Regions from separate parts of the Homo sapiens genome. Here all the other regions are linked to region 4. Evidence: promoter capture Hi-C in 16 types of primary human blood cells and fetal thymus (Javierre and others, 2016). All regions are on one chromosome and are shown on one strand. Each heading gives the region's core, a stretch centred on a gene start or on the middle of the fragment in contact. The rest is flanking DNA. Distances are from core to core; before and after follow the strand shown. Region 1 overlaps NTSR1 (neurotensin receptor 1). Region 2 holds the start of LSM14B (LSM family member 14B). Region 3 overlaps TAF4 (TATA-box binding protein associated factor 4). Region 4 holds the start of RPS21 (ribosomal protein S21).

Region 1 (3,180 bases), core at 666-3,165, 330 kb before region 4:
CCCAGACACACTTGCGGTCCCTCCCTGACTCGCAGGAGCCGGGGGCTTCGTGATTCTGCCAATCAACTGGGAAGTGACACCCCAGACAGCAGCATCCCACGGCTGTTGTGAGCAGTTACAATTGAGTGATGCCCAAGCAGGAATGATTCCCAAACAGCTCCCGTACTCTCTGAATGCTGAGAGCCTGGAAGTGTGAGTTTTTAAGGAGAGGAACCGTGTTTGAATTATAAGAAAACAAGGCTCTTGAAATAATTCTCTTAACCTTTAAATATGTCAAAGGAGAGTTACTGAAATTTACAGTAAGTTCACCTTTTCACAGACAACAGGCTAAAAATGTTTAAGTCCAAATAATGTTGCTCTTTTTCATAAGCTTCAGTGTAAGATTTACTCAAACACAGTGGCTGTCCTCAGACTCATGTTTCTTGGATAACTCTATTTCTTTGTTCTGTGTTCTTTTGTAACATTGTTTTAATAATTCCTTTGAGCCCAAGCCTTTTATCATAAGCTGCCTCAGATCTTTTTGAAAGTAGGCAGTGTTTAAAATCTACGGATGACTTTCGCCAGGGGTACTGGACTAGCTCTCCTGCCATAAACAACTATAAAATTGTACACGATGTATCAGGCAGTTGTTTTCAGACCCTGGACAAACCTCAGGACTGTGGTCCCTAAGGGCATGGATACTCACAAGGTGAGCCCATCATCACCATGCCTCTGTTTGGGGACAGTTTCCTGATGGAGACGTAAGAGCTGAGGTCCGGGCAGAACGTTACTATCTGAGCCAAGGAGGCAGAGATCAGAGATGCGGGCTGTGGCTGTGGCTACATCTGCAGAGCCAGGTGCTAGAGAGGGGGACTGCATGGTGACGGTCCTCAGAAGCCTACACCGGCTTTCCTGTGGGATCTGTGCTGGCCCAGCGTGTACAGAACAAGGCCACGAAAGGCTTATCAGAGGGTGGCTGGCATCCTGGCAGAGCTAGGGGGAAGAAGTCTCATTAACACATGAAGCAGCCAACAGAGATGCCAGGAAGCCCATGACACAGGAGGATGGAGAAGCCCTAGAGCAAGGCCTCCAAACCCACCCCAGCTAAGACAGAATCCACAGAGGAGGCTGAAGGTGCCCACTGAGTTCTTCCAAGTGAGAAGGGATATTGGAAAATGCCTTGGGCTTTCCGTAGTTGTTTACTCAACTAAGCATGAAACCAAGCCGACCCAAGTTCAAGATGACGAGTCTGCCACTGAACTGCCTGCTAAAATAAGAATCAACCCTCTCCAAAGGAACACAACACAATCCAGTCTCTTTAATGTGTCATCTACAAGGTCTAGTATAGGTTAAAAATTACTAGATATGCAAAGAAAGTAAAATGTGACCCATTGACAAGAAAAAAATGAGTCCATTGAAACAGACATCAAGGTGGAAGTGAGAAGCAGGAGGTGTCAGGTGTAAATCAGCATGATATGAATCTGATCAGACTCTGAGCACTCAGAGTCCACTCAGAGGCATACTGATATTCCAGGGCAACCATTCCAAGAGCAAATACAGAGAAGTGGATCTAAAGAAGTCAGCAGAGGACATAACATGGAATACTCGGGCTTCCTGGCTGGAGGCCTAAGGAAAGGATCCCTGGAAACTAGAGAGTGTGACAGGAAATCTCAGAGAGGTGAGAGCTGAACAAGGGGATCCCCCAGTTCTGTGTATGAGTCAACACAAGTCCTGGAGTTACCACATATGAGGAACACACCTAAACAATTATAGTTAAGGGCTTGAAAACCGCTGTGATATAAACGATCTCCAAGATCTAAGCCTGCCCCTGAATGGCACTTTCATGTGGAATGGCTGAACAGCAAAAGACCCAAAAACAGGCCTGCATTGGAACCACCACGGACAGACAGTGAGACAAAAGCGGCAGCTCTGACCAAGCGGGCTGCCTCTCCAGAGGATTCTAACATAACCCAAAGAACCACAACAAAATTCAAAATGTTCAGGAATTAATTCAAAATTACTTAACAGAAAAAGAACCATGGAAATGGGACTAACTCTCAAGGAAAAGAGAATCAATATATGCCACCCTCAAGATGACCCAGAGGATGGATTTACCAGACAAAGACTTTAAAGCAGGCATTACAACCATGCTCCTTGAGGTAAAGGTAACTCTCTTGAAATAAATGGAAAAATGAAAGTTCTTAAAAGACAAAAAGAAACTATATTAAAAGAACCAATAAAAATTCTAGAATTAAATACTATAACACTATCCAACAAATTGACCTTCATAGAATAATATACCCAGCAATGATAGCACAGCACATTCTGCTCAAGTGTGCATGTGACATTCACCAGAATAGACCATTATCCTAAACCATGAAACAAGCATTCACAAAATTAGGAATTTAAATCATGCACATTTGTTCTCTAAACATAATAGGGTTAAATTAGAAATGGATAAAAAAGTAATATCTGGAAAATCCCAAACATTTGGAAACTAAACAACACATTTGTAAATAACACAAAGGTTAAAGAGGGAATCTCAAGATATAAAAAAATTTTGATCTAAATTAGAATACAATGTTCAAAAATTTTGAGATGCCACTAAAGCATTAATTAGGAGGATGTTTATAGCATTTCATGTTTATGTTAGAAAAGAATAAAGATCTTAAATCAATAATCCAAGCTCCCACCTTAGGAAATCTAGGAAAAGAAGAGCAAATTAAACCCAAAGCAAGCAGAAAAAGGAAATGAAGAAAGAAATATAAATAAATAAAATTGAAAGCTAAAAGACAATAGAAAAAAAATCAATGAAATCAAAAGCTCATTCTTGAAAAAGAACAATAATGTTAATAAAATCCTAGCCATATTGCCCAAGGAGAAAAGAGAGAAGTCACAGATTACCAATATTAGAAATGAACAAGGAGACACTATTACTGACCCCACAGACATTAAAAGGATGATGACAGAATACCACAAATAAATCTATGCTCTAAAATTTGACAAAATAGATTATATGGACCAATTCCTCAAAAGATACAAATTACTAACACTTACTCAAGGAGAAATATATAACCTGAATATTCCTTTATCTTTTAAAATAATTTGTCTTGTGAGATGGAGTCTCGCTCTGTCACCTAGGCTGGTGTGCAGTGGCGTGATCTCGGTTCATTGCAACCTCCACCTCCCGAGTTAAAGCGA
Region 2 (3,015 bases), core at 112-2,611, 260 kb after region 4:
CAAGCTCCTGAAGCCACGCAGGAGACGGGCTTCAAAAGGAGACACTCCCTGTTTGGAATGAGTGCGTTCTTCTACACATGAAGTTCCCTGTGACCTAAGCAGCGTTTCAGACGCGTCTAGACACTTCAAGAACCCCTGGGAGCCTAGCGCCAGATCCAGCACACACACGGGCTTAGGCAGACGTGGCTCCACGGGCACTTTTCTCTGAGAGGCAGGGGAAGTGCACTCCCCGTCTTCTCTGGGTGATGAAGACAAAGAAACTCTGGACCACCCGCTGCCTCAACAACCTCAGAGATTCTGACTCTAAAGAGCCCCCCTCCTGTAAGTCCTCCAGCGGCCACAGCCGGTTACGAGCACCCACAGGCGGCTGTCACCAAAAGGTAAGCCCCACAGTGGGAAGGTCAGGATAGAGCAGGAGAACCGTTTAAACCGGGGCATCTGGCTGCCAACGGATGCTTCTGCCTTGGCAGGAGGCCGCATTAGGACGCGGTATTTGTTCAGGATCAAGGCCCCAGCTGTCTAATAAGTTCCAGAAAGGCTTGCAGGATTCGCGTGTTGTGACCCCACCCCCAGCCTTCGGGAGACGCCGGGACACTGGCCCCGCCACCCGACCTCGAGGCTCCCCCGCAGGGATCCCCCCAGGCTGGCGGGGAGGAGGCCCGCTGACGGGAGCCGCCCTGCTCCTCGGAGCTGGCACCTGCAGAGGTGGGCTGGGCGGCCGAGGGGGCGGCACCGCGGGGGCCGGGCCCGCCCCTCACCAAACACCGCCGGGCGCCCGCGCACAATCCCGCCGCCCTGGGAGCCCAGGGAGACCATTGTGCGGCCGGCTACGCTGGGGGAGGGTGGCGCGCGGGAAGGGGGCGCCTCGGGGGCGTCCGGGGTGAAGGCGCGGGCAGGGGATCTCGGGCCGGGTGTGCCCTGGGTGGGTTCTGGGCGGGGTCTGGGCGCCAGGCTCCGGGGCGCCCCGGGGCGGGGAGGGCACCGCAGGCCGGGGCTGTTGGCGGACGGGGGTCAGCGGGCTCGGGCGGGCGGCGGCCGCTACCTTTGGCGAGCGCCACGGTGGAGTTGTCGGTGTCGATGGTGTAGAGAATGCCCTCGTAGCGGATCTGCGCCTTGGAGATGAGGCTGATCTTGCTGCCCAGATACGGGGTGCCTGAGGAGCCGCTCATGGCGGCGGCCGGGGTGCGTCGGGCCGCGGTGGGGAAGGAGCGCCGGGCCGCGGCCCGCTCCGCCGCCGCGCGGTGGCCTGGCCGCCCGCTCCTGCGCTCCTCCGCCCGCCGCCGCCTCCGCCTGGGCGCCTCCTCGCCACCGCCCGAGGGGCCTGCGCGGGCACCGAGCGAACCAAGAAGGGGCGCGCGACTGGGGCTCTGAGAGGAGCGCGGGGGAGGAGGGGCCGCCGCAGCCACATCCGGGGCCTCGCGCCGCCACGCACCGCCACGCACCGCCCCTTCACGCTCGCCGCCCATTGGCTCGCCGCGCCCGCCGTCCTTTAAATATGGCCGGGCCGCCAGCTGGGGGGCGGGCCCTCGCGTCGTTCCTGCGCAGCAAGGCGCCGCTGGCCGGGGGCGGGTCTCCCCGGCGATCCGCCCCACCCTCGGCCGGCTCCCGGCGGGCCCCTCGCGGAGCTGGGAGCACGAGACTGAGCGGGCGGGGGGAGGGGTGGGAAGCGGCCCGGGAGGAGCGCGCGTGCGCGTGGGCGGGCGGCTGCGGTTTGCACGCTCAGTGGGCGGGACCGGGGAGGAGCGCCAGGCCCCGCCCGCGCGCGTGCCGGCGCCGCCCCGGACCCTGGGCGCCGCGAACACGGGGGCTTTGCCCCCTTGGCCTCAGTTTCCCCTCCTACAGAAGTGGGGTCCGGACGACTCCCCTATCTTGGGCCAGATGCGCCTATAGCCCTCACCCTCATGGGGGACCGGGGAGTGGCGGAGGCCCTGGGCGCCGGGTGTTCCCGGGCAGCCCCGGGACTCCCGCCCCAGTGCCCAGGTGCCGGCGGGGGGCGGGCGCGGCGGCAGCTCCCGGGAAGGCGGCGCTTCCGGCGTGGCAGCCTCTAAATATAACATGCTGAGCACACTTTCTCTTTTAATCCTGCCCCTCCTCCCAAAGCCTGCCGCAGCTTTCCATTTCCCTTAAAATAAATTCTGACTGGCTACCGGGGGCCTCGGAGCCTCCGCTCGTACCCGGGGCTGCGGCCCGGAGGCCTTGCCCACCTCCCCGGCCGTGGAGGAAGCTCGGCCGCCCGCCGTCGCTTAGCTGCGGGCCCTCCTCGCGTATACTCCGCGTGATTAGTGACCGAGGGCGCGCGGTGTGTGCTTTTTTTGCTTCCGTCTTGACCGTGAACATCATCAGATCACGGACCAATATTGGGTCCTGGAAAAAAAAAGTAGTGGGTGGTGACTATAAAAATGCAATAGGCTGGGCGCGGTGGCTCACGCCTGTAATCCCAACACTTTGGGAGGCGGAGGCGGGCGGATCACTTGAGGTGAGGAGTTCAAGACCAGCCTGGGCAAAATGGTGAAACCCTGTCTCTACTCTAAAAATACAAAAAAACTAGCCGGGCGTGGTGACAGACACGTGTAATCCCCAGCTACTCGGGAGTCTGAGGCAGGAGAATCGCTTGAGCCTGAGACGTGAAGATTGCAGTCAGCAGAGATCTCACCACTGCATTCCAGCCTGGGCGACAGAGCTAGACCCCGTCTCAAGAAAAATAATAATAAAAATGAAATAGAATAAGCTAGAAGATATCAGATGGCGTGGTGGGTGGCTCATGCCTGTAATCTCAGCACTCTGGGAGGCCGAAGCGGGAAGATCACTGGAGGCCAGGAGTTTGAGATCAGCCTGGGCGACATATGGAGACCCCATCTCTACAAAAAAAAAAAAAACTTTAAAAAAAATTGGGCGAGTGTGGGGGCACATACTTGTAGTTCCAGCTCCTGGGGAGGTGGAGGCAGAGGCGGGAGGATCACTTGAGCCCAGGAGTTGGAGGCTGCAATGAGCTGTGATTGGACTACTGCACGCAGG
Region 3 (3,429 bases), core at 294-2,793, 330 kb after region 4:
TGATTTGACACCCACATTAGCATGTTGGTAAATTGTTGAGAGATCTTTTCAGATCGGTGTAAGGTAAAGAAGCTCATTTCTAAAGGTTATCTTTTGGCCTGGCAAATTCACATTTTCTTCAGTGTATCTTGGTCTATTGTGCTTTCATGCAGAATTTACTCTCCTTTTGCTCTAAGATTTGGCCCAAGTGTAGATTCCCATTCCAGGACAGAAAAGCACTTTCTCACCATGGGCCTTGATCCCTTGGCCTAGGGGGCGTGTGCTTGCTGCATGTTTTAGGATGAGTACTCCCAGGTGAATGTGTGTCTGTGGGTGCTGTCTGGAGCATTGGTTCCCATCTGTGGGGAAAGGGGGAAAATGTCCACTAGCCCTTAATCGCGCTGTTGGGACGGGTTGGATTTGGCGAGTCCAGGCCCATGCTGGGTGGCGGCATGCAGACGGCCACCCCTGAGGTTGCAGGAGCTGTGAGTTCTGGTGGCCAGTGGTGGCAGCCAGTGCTCTGGCACAAGGGACATTCCTAAAAGTTTAGATTTTGTGACTTGAGGGCCCTGTTGCCGTTTGACCTGGGAGGAATATGTTGTTCCTCGGAGCCTTGGCTTACCCAGCTGTAAAGTGGGGTTGCCCTTTTGGTGAAGAATGTGAATTCTGTCAGGTTGGGCCAGATAACATAGCTGTCAGGTGGCGCTCACTATTCCAAACTCTCCCAGTTCCCCTCATTTTTCACTGATTTTCACACATTAATCCAGACTGGATGTTTTCTCAGTGACTGAGGTGTTTGGTGTGGCAGCTGACTGGTTCTGTCAATGGGGAAGTTACCGAGGTCTGAGGTGGGTCACCCTGGGGCGGTGGTTGCCAACATAGGGGAGGGTTGCAGTGGCCTTTGGAGGCCTGGACCTGGGTGGAGGGCTCACTTTAGGCTAGAGGCCTTAATCTGGTGTTTCTTTTGACATACTCAGGTAGGAGTGACATTTGAAAAGAACAAAGAAAAAGAACTTTTGGGGAGCTGTGTAAAGACAGCCCTGGACAGCTCTGCCTAGCATAGGGCAAGGGCGCCGCTCTGGGTCTTCCCTTCCTCCCTGCCCCCTGCCCCGCGGCTGGGGTCGTCACCATCGCCTTCGGGATGAACAGAGTCATCTTGGTGACAGGTTGGGATGGACCTCACCTGCCTTTGGTGTCTCAGAGCTGGTGACCCTCATGGCTTAGTGGCAGCCAGGAGTCGGGGTCCTGTGACGCTCTTAGGAGCCTCTCTCCTCACTGCTTACTGTGCCCGAGCACTGCATTCACAGCAGAGGTCTATGAGTTTGAACAGAGGATGACGTTTGAAGTTCGTTACGGTTGCCCTGGTTCTTAGGGCCTGTGAGAAGCTTTGTAGGAGAGGGTGTCCCGCTTGCTTCTGTGGCAAATGGACCTGAGGCAGGCCCCGGGCGCCTGGGAAGTTGGCCTTCTCCCAGGGCAGAGAGCAGAGCCACCCTGGCTTCCAGGACTGCCCCCGGGCTCCCCGGTGTGCTGTGGAAGTTGCCCCTTAGACATCAGCACAGGGAGGCCGGGAGGCGGCGTCTGGTCAGAGCAGCACAGACCGGGCTCAGCAGAACAGACTGGTGGGCGTGTCCGCATCCCGAAATCAGAGTGGAATGGAGACAGTTCCTGTTCTACCTCCAAAGCCTTTTCTACTGTATAATGTGAGTTTTCTTCCACTTAAGGGATAAATTTGAAGAAAGCTTTTATAAATTGTTGGTTGTAAGTGAGTTGATCAAAGCATAATTAGCAGCTGTGTTTGAGGATCTTGAAGCAGAGGTGTAACAGGGCTCTGGAGAAGCTTGCCTGAGATTTGGGGTAATTTGCAGGGTTCCCGAAGTGCTTTGCTTTTCTTCTTCATGGTGCTCAGTAGGAACCTCCAAGCCCTCGATCATCCAGGAAACAGTTGCTGTTTAGGGTGTTCACCTGTGGTGCCCGGCTCAGGCAGCGTGATGGGGGCGTTTACTTAATCAGGCCTTTGATAGCAATAAAGCAGTTAAATAAAGGGGGCTTTTGGCTGCAGGCCCTTCTGTGCCGAGTGCTGTGCACCTGGGCTTCCTGGACGCTTCTGCTTCCAGGTGGGCCTGCGGTTGCTATGGCATTGTGGTGTCAGCTGCAAACACGTACACAGCTGTTCTTTCCAATTCTTGCGTGGAATAATGAAGTAGAATAAGTGCTGTCAAGTTATGTTCGAAAATGGGGTGCTTAATATTTCCATGGTTGGACCATGAAAGTTTTGAGTGAAAACTTTTGATTTTTACATATCTCAAATGAACATTTGCACCAAAGATGTACAGCTTTCGAAAAACAAAGAGATACATGTTGTCCACCATGAGGCCCCTCTCCCATTTGAGAAAGTACCTGGTGTCCGCTGTTGGTCAGTCCGCGGTGGTCCCAGGCTCTTCTCCAGGCCTGCCTTCTGCCTGGAGCAGGCCATGCTGCAGTGTGCAGGATGATGTAGTGAAGTGCCCCCAGCTTCTCCCACCGTGGGTGTCATGTTGTGGAGCAGAAGTTGTCGTTGGGAACCGCGTGTGAGGGCAGGAGAAATTGTTTGTTGGGAGCCGCATGTGGGGACAGGAGAAGTTGTCTGTTGGGGACTGTGTTTGGGGACTGGAGAGGTTGGCCCCCCGAGCCCCATTGTCTGTGGCCTGGTGTGTAGACCTGTGTCCGTCCTTCCTGAGGTCTTGCTGAGGTTGGCCCCCGAGCCCCATTGTCTGTGGCCTGGTGTGTAGACCTGTGTCCGTCCTTCCTGAGGTCTTGCTGAGGTTGGCCCCCGAGCCCCATTGTCTGTGGCCTGGTGTGTAGACCTGTGTCCGTCCTTCCTGAGGTCTTGCTGAGGTTGGCCCCCGAGCCCCATTGTCTGTGGCCTGGTGTGTAGGCCTGTGTCCGTCCTTCCTGAGGTCTTGCTGAGGTTGGCCCCCCGAGCCCCATTGTCTGTGGCCTGGTGTGTAGGCCTGTGTCCGTCCTTCCTGAGGTCTTGCTGAGGTTGGCCCCCCGAGCCCCATTGTCTGTGGCCTGGTGTGTAGACCTGTGTCCGTCCTTCCTGAGGTCTTGCTGAGGTTGGCCCCCGAGCCCCATTGTCTGTGGCCTGGTGTGTAGACCTGTGTCCGTCCTTCCTGAGGTCTTGCTGAGGTTGGCCCCCGAGCCCCATTGTCTGTGGCCTGGTGTGTAGACCTGTGTCCGTCCTTCCTGAGGTCTTGCTGAGGTTGGCCCCCCGAGCCCCATTGTCTGTGGCCTGGTGTGTAGACCTGTGTCCGTCCTTCCTGAGGTCTTGCTGAGGTTGGCCCCCCGAGCCCCATTGTCTGTGGCCTGGTGTGTAGACCTGTGTCCGTCCTTCCTGAGGTCTTGCTGAGGTTGGCCCCCGAGCCCCATTGTCTGTGGCCTGGTGTGTAGGCCTGTGTCCGTCCTTCCTGA
Region 4 (2,980 bases), core at 1-2,500:
CCATCGGCCTTGGCCAATCGGAGAATGGAATCATCTGACTCACCCTTAAGAAAAAAAAAAAAGCACACTAAGAATATTTCCACTCCGGCTGCCTGAGATGGCAGAAGGTCAGCTGTGCCACCAGCCCACGTCTCTCCCCCGCTGAGCGAATGGAGACAGGCGCAGAAGGGGAGCCACCTCTCCCGGGGCAGCCTGCAGCCTGACTATGGTGGAGCGGGGTCGGGGGGGCACCTCCTAGTGAGAGGCAGAGTCTGCTGCCTGAGTGTCTTCTCAGAGCACCCCTCTTCCACCCTCAAGAAGCGGCAGGCGGCCAGCCCAGTCCAGCTGGCTCAAACTACTCTGCCAGCAGATCTACTCAGGCACCATCACACACTCCAATGCGCACGGTAAAGTCCACGATGTCCCGAAGTGATGAGCAAAGCCCAGGGAAACACTCACCATCCTACGAATGGCCCCGCAGATAGCATAAGTTTTAAACTGGCCATTAAACCTGCCTGTGACCTTGTCAACCTAGAAAGAGAAGAAGGGTCACAAACCACTCCCCCAGGTTTGGGAAACACCAATCCTCAAAGCCAGCCTCTGCCTGTACCTTCACCCCAGGGGCTCCTCCACAATGGGACAGCCTGCCTTTCCCGCACATATATCACAACCTTCCCGCCTCCCGGGCTCCCAGCTCACCTCGGCCACGTTCATCTGGATGGATGCGTGGTCCTTGGCACCGATGATGCGATTGCTAGCGGAGCTGTGGAGAAAGGGCGCAGTGAGCAGAGGGGACTTGGGCGGTAAGAATGAAAGAGGGGACGAGGGAGGTTGGGGGTATATGAATGGAAAAGAGTAACGTCGGGGGCAGGACAAGTTAGGGACGTGACGAGGTAAGGACGGGAGGGGTGTGGGGGAACAAGGGCAGGCGAGGGGACGTGGTGGTTAGGTAAGGACGGAAGAGAGGCATGTGGGGGGCGCTTACCATTTCCGCGGCACGTACAGGTCCACGAACTCGCCGGCGTCGTTCTGCATTTCGAGGCTGGGCTGCGCCTGGGGAGTCACCGCGCGGCGCCGTGAGTACGGCCGGAACCGTGCCCCGGCTCCCGGCGCAAACCGGCCCCTAGGGTCACGGCCCCAGCCGCACCCAGCACCCCGCACCCCGTCCCCCGCGTCCAAGCCCCCACTCCCGCCCCAGCCCCAGCCCTGAGCCCGAAGCCCGCGCCGCGCGCCACACCTGCTGCCACCACACCGCGCGCGAGAGAGAAAGGAAGCAGCTAGTCACCCGGCAGAGATATCGGCGGGCAAGGAGGGGCCTCGGCGAGCGCTTCCGGGTCACGCCACCACAGCGAGTCTGCGCGGTGCGTGCTTGCCGGCCGTCGCCGTGACGCACTTCCGCTTCCGGCAAGGAGGTTCTCGGACCCCAGCCTGCTGGCCCTGGGGCGCGGGGCGTCGTGGGGGTCGTTGTCGTTGAGGGTCGTTGCCGTGTGTGGCGTCTTAGCCTGGCCCCTGGGTTGTGCCCCACGGACGCAGTCGACCCCTCTGAGCGCCTCGGGAGCCCCGAATAGCAGCTGGGAGAAGGGGCGAGGACTGAGCCTCGCTGCCCGCTGCCGGCCGGGCTAGAGATACGGGCGTGCCCCCCATTGTGCGCCTCCCGCCCTCCGGTCCCCTCACCCTGCGGCCACCTGGGGCGTGGGGCGGTGCTCCTGCCCGTGCACGTAGCCGCTGCGAGCGGAGGCCTGCTCACCTGGTGCCTGCTACTCACTCCCCCGGGCCGGTGGGCGAAGGACACCCGCAGGAACTCGGCAGAGGAGAAATTCAGACGGCTCCCGAGGGTAGGAAAAGACCCCGGCCCACCGTGGAATCTGAAACACCCGACCACTCTGCCATCCCATGTTTCACCAGTCAGACCCCCAGGGCAGGGCAGGGGAAGCAGAATGCAAACTGGGGCACCGTTTCCCTGAAGCGTGTTGGCCGCGTTTGTCGTAGTGCTAGAGGTGCATACCCTTGGACCCCGAAAACCCATTCCTGGGAATTTGCTCCAAGGAAGTAAAGATGTTACAAAGATGGACCCACGAAGTATGGTCGTTGGTTATGGGTGGGGTCTTGAGGAAGGCCTTGTTAGTAGCCTGAACCCTGTTGCCAGGAGAAGCTCCAAACCGGTAGACGGAGGGAGCAGCGCGGCCTATGTTGGGGTCTTCTCTGGGCGGGGGACATGATCCTAGGATGTAGAACTAGCCTCAGAAAACTTAAGACTCAGTGGCCAGGTGCGGTGGCTCAGGCCTGTAATCCCAGCGCTTTGGGCGGAGGTGGGTGGATCACCTGAGGTCAGGAGTTCGAGACCCGTCTGGCCAACATGGTGAAACCCCATCTCTACTAAAAATACAAAAAATTAGCTGGGCGTGGTGGCAGGCGCCTGTAGTCCCAGCTACTCGGAAGGCTGAGGCAGGAGAATGGCGTGAACCCGGGAGGCGGAGCTTGTAGTGAGCTGAGATCCCGCCACTGCACTCCAGCCTGGGCGACAGAGCAAGACTGCGTCTCAAAAAAAAAAAGTTTTTTTATGTTTAATTTTTTGGGTACATAGTGGGTGTGTACATTTATGGGGCACATGAGATATTTTCATACCGGCATGCAGTGCGTAGTAATCACATGGGGTATATGGAGCATCCATCACCTCAAGCATTTATCCTTTGCGTTACAAATAATCCAATACTATACTCTTTTAGTCATTTTAAAATGTGCAATTAAATCATTATTGACTGTAGACACCCTGTTGTGCTATCAAACACTAGGTCTTATTCTTTCTGTCTTTTTATACCCATTAACCATCCCCATTTGCCCCCCTCCTCCCACTGTTCTACCCTTCCCAGCCTCTGGTAACCATCTTTCTACTGTCTGTCTCCACAAATTCAATTGTTTTAATTTTTAGCTCCCACAAATAATAGTGCTGTGATAAACATCGTAGCACATGTATCTCTTCCTTTCTTTCTTTTTTTTTTGA

What was found. Contacts are between HindIII fragments. The CHiCAGO score rates a contact against its expected background, and 5 or more counts as called.
Region 1: a contact is called between a fragment that was not itself captured here and the fragment with the promoter of RPS21 in region 4, in 1 of 17 cell types (M2 macrophages). The highest score is 5.1, in M2 macrophages.
Region 2: a contact is called between the fragment with the promoter of LSM14B here and the fragment with the promoter of RPS21 in region 4, in 1 of 17 cell types (naive CD4 T cells). The highest score is 5.9, in naive CD4 T cells.
Region 3: a contact is called between a fragment that was not itself captured here and the fragment with the promoter of RPS21 in region 4, in 1 of 17 cell types (neutrophils). The highest score is 5.1, in neutrophils.

What each region holds. Positions count from the first base shown.
Region 1 is chr20:62,720,213-62,723,392 of GRCh38, reverse strand. All of the region lies in intron 1 of NTSR1 (neurotensin receptor 1), which reads right to left. Among named protein-coding and RNA genes, the nearest start is that of NTSR1, 13 kb to the right of the region's middle. RefSeq lists a silencer at 1,827-2,019. The HindIII fragment of the contact is 3,085 bases long and covers 373-3,180 here.
Region 2 is chr20:62,120,821-62,123,835 of GRCh38, reverse strand. It overlaps LSM14B (LSM family member 14B), which reads right to left and starts at 1,361. Exons shown (of 9, transcript NM_144703.3): 1 at 1,043-1,361. The coding sequence starts at 1,169. LOC105372706 (a long non-coding RNA gene) reads left to right here and starts at 152. Exons shown (of 3, transcript XR_936963.2): 1 at 152-380. RefSeq lists enhancers at 1-472, 473-1,161, 1,162-1,849 and silencers at 513-1,052, 1,213-2,302. The HindIII fragment of the contact is 16,298 bases long and covers 1-3,015 here.
Region 3 is chr20:62,058,203-62,061,631 of GRCh38, reverse strand. All of the region lies in intron 1 of TAF4 (TATA-box binding protein associated factor 4), which reads left to right. Among named protein-coding and RNA genes, the nearest start is that of MIR3195, 4.9 kb to the left of the region's middle. The HindIII fragment of the contact is 354 bases long and covers 1,367-1,720 here.
Region 4 is chr20:62,385,373-62,388,352 of GRCh38, reverse strand. RPS21 (ribosomal protein S21) reads right to left here and starts at 1,250. Exons shown (of 6, transcript NM_001024.4): 1 at 1,217-1,250; 2 at 965-1,032; 3 at 679-742; 4 at 439-510; 5 at 1-44. The coding sequence starts at 1,014. RPS21-DT (RPS21 divergent transcript) reads left to right here and starts at 1,364. Exons shown (of 1, transcript NR_186459.1): 1 at 1,364-2,050. RefSeq lists enhancers at 401-1,092, 1,093-1,784, 2,063-2,112 and silencers at 973-1,162, 1,593-1,712. The HindIII fragment of the contact is 6,470 bases long and covers 1-2,980 here.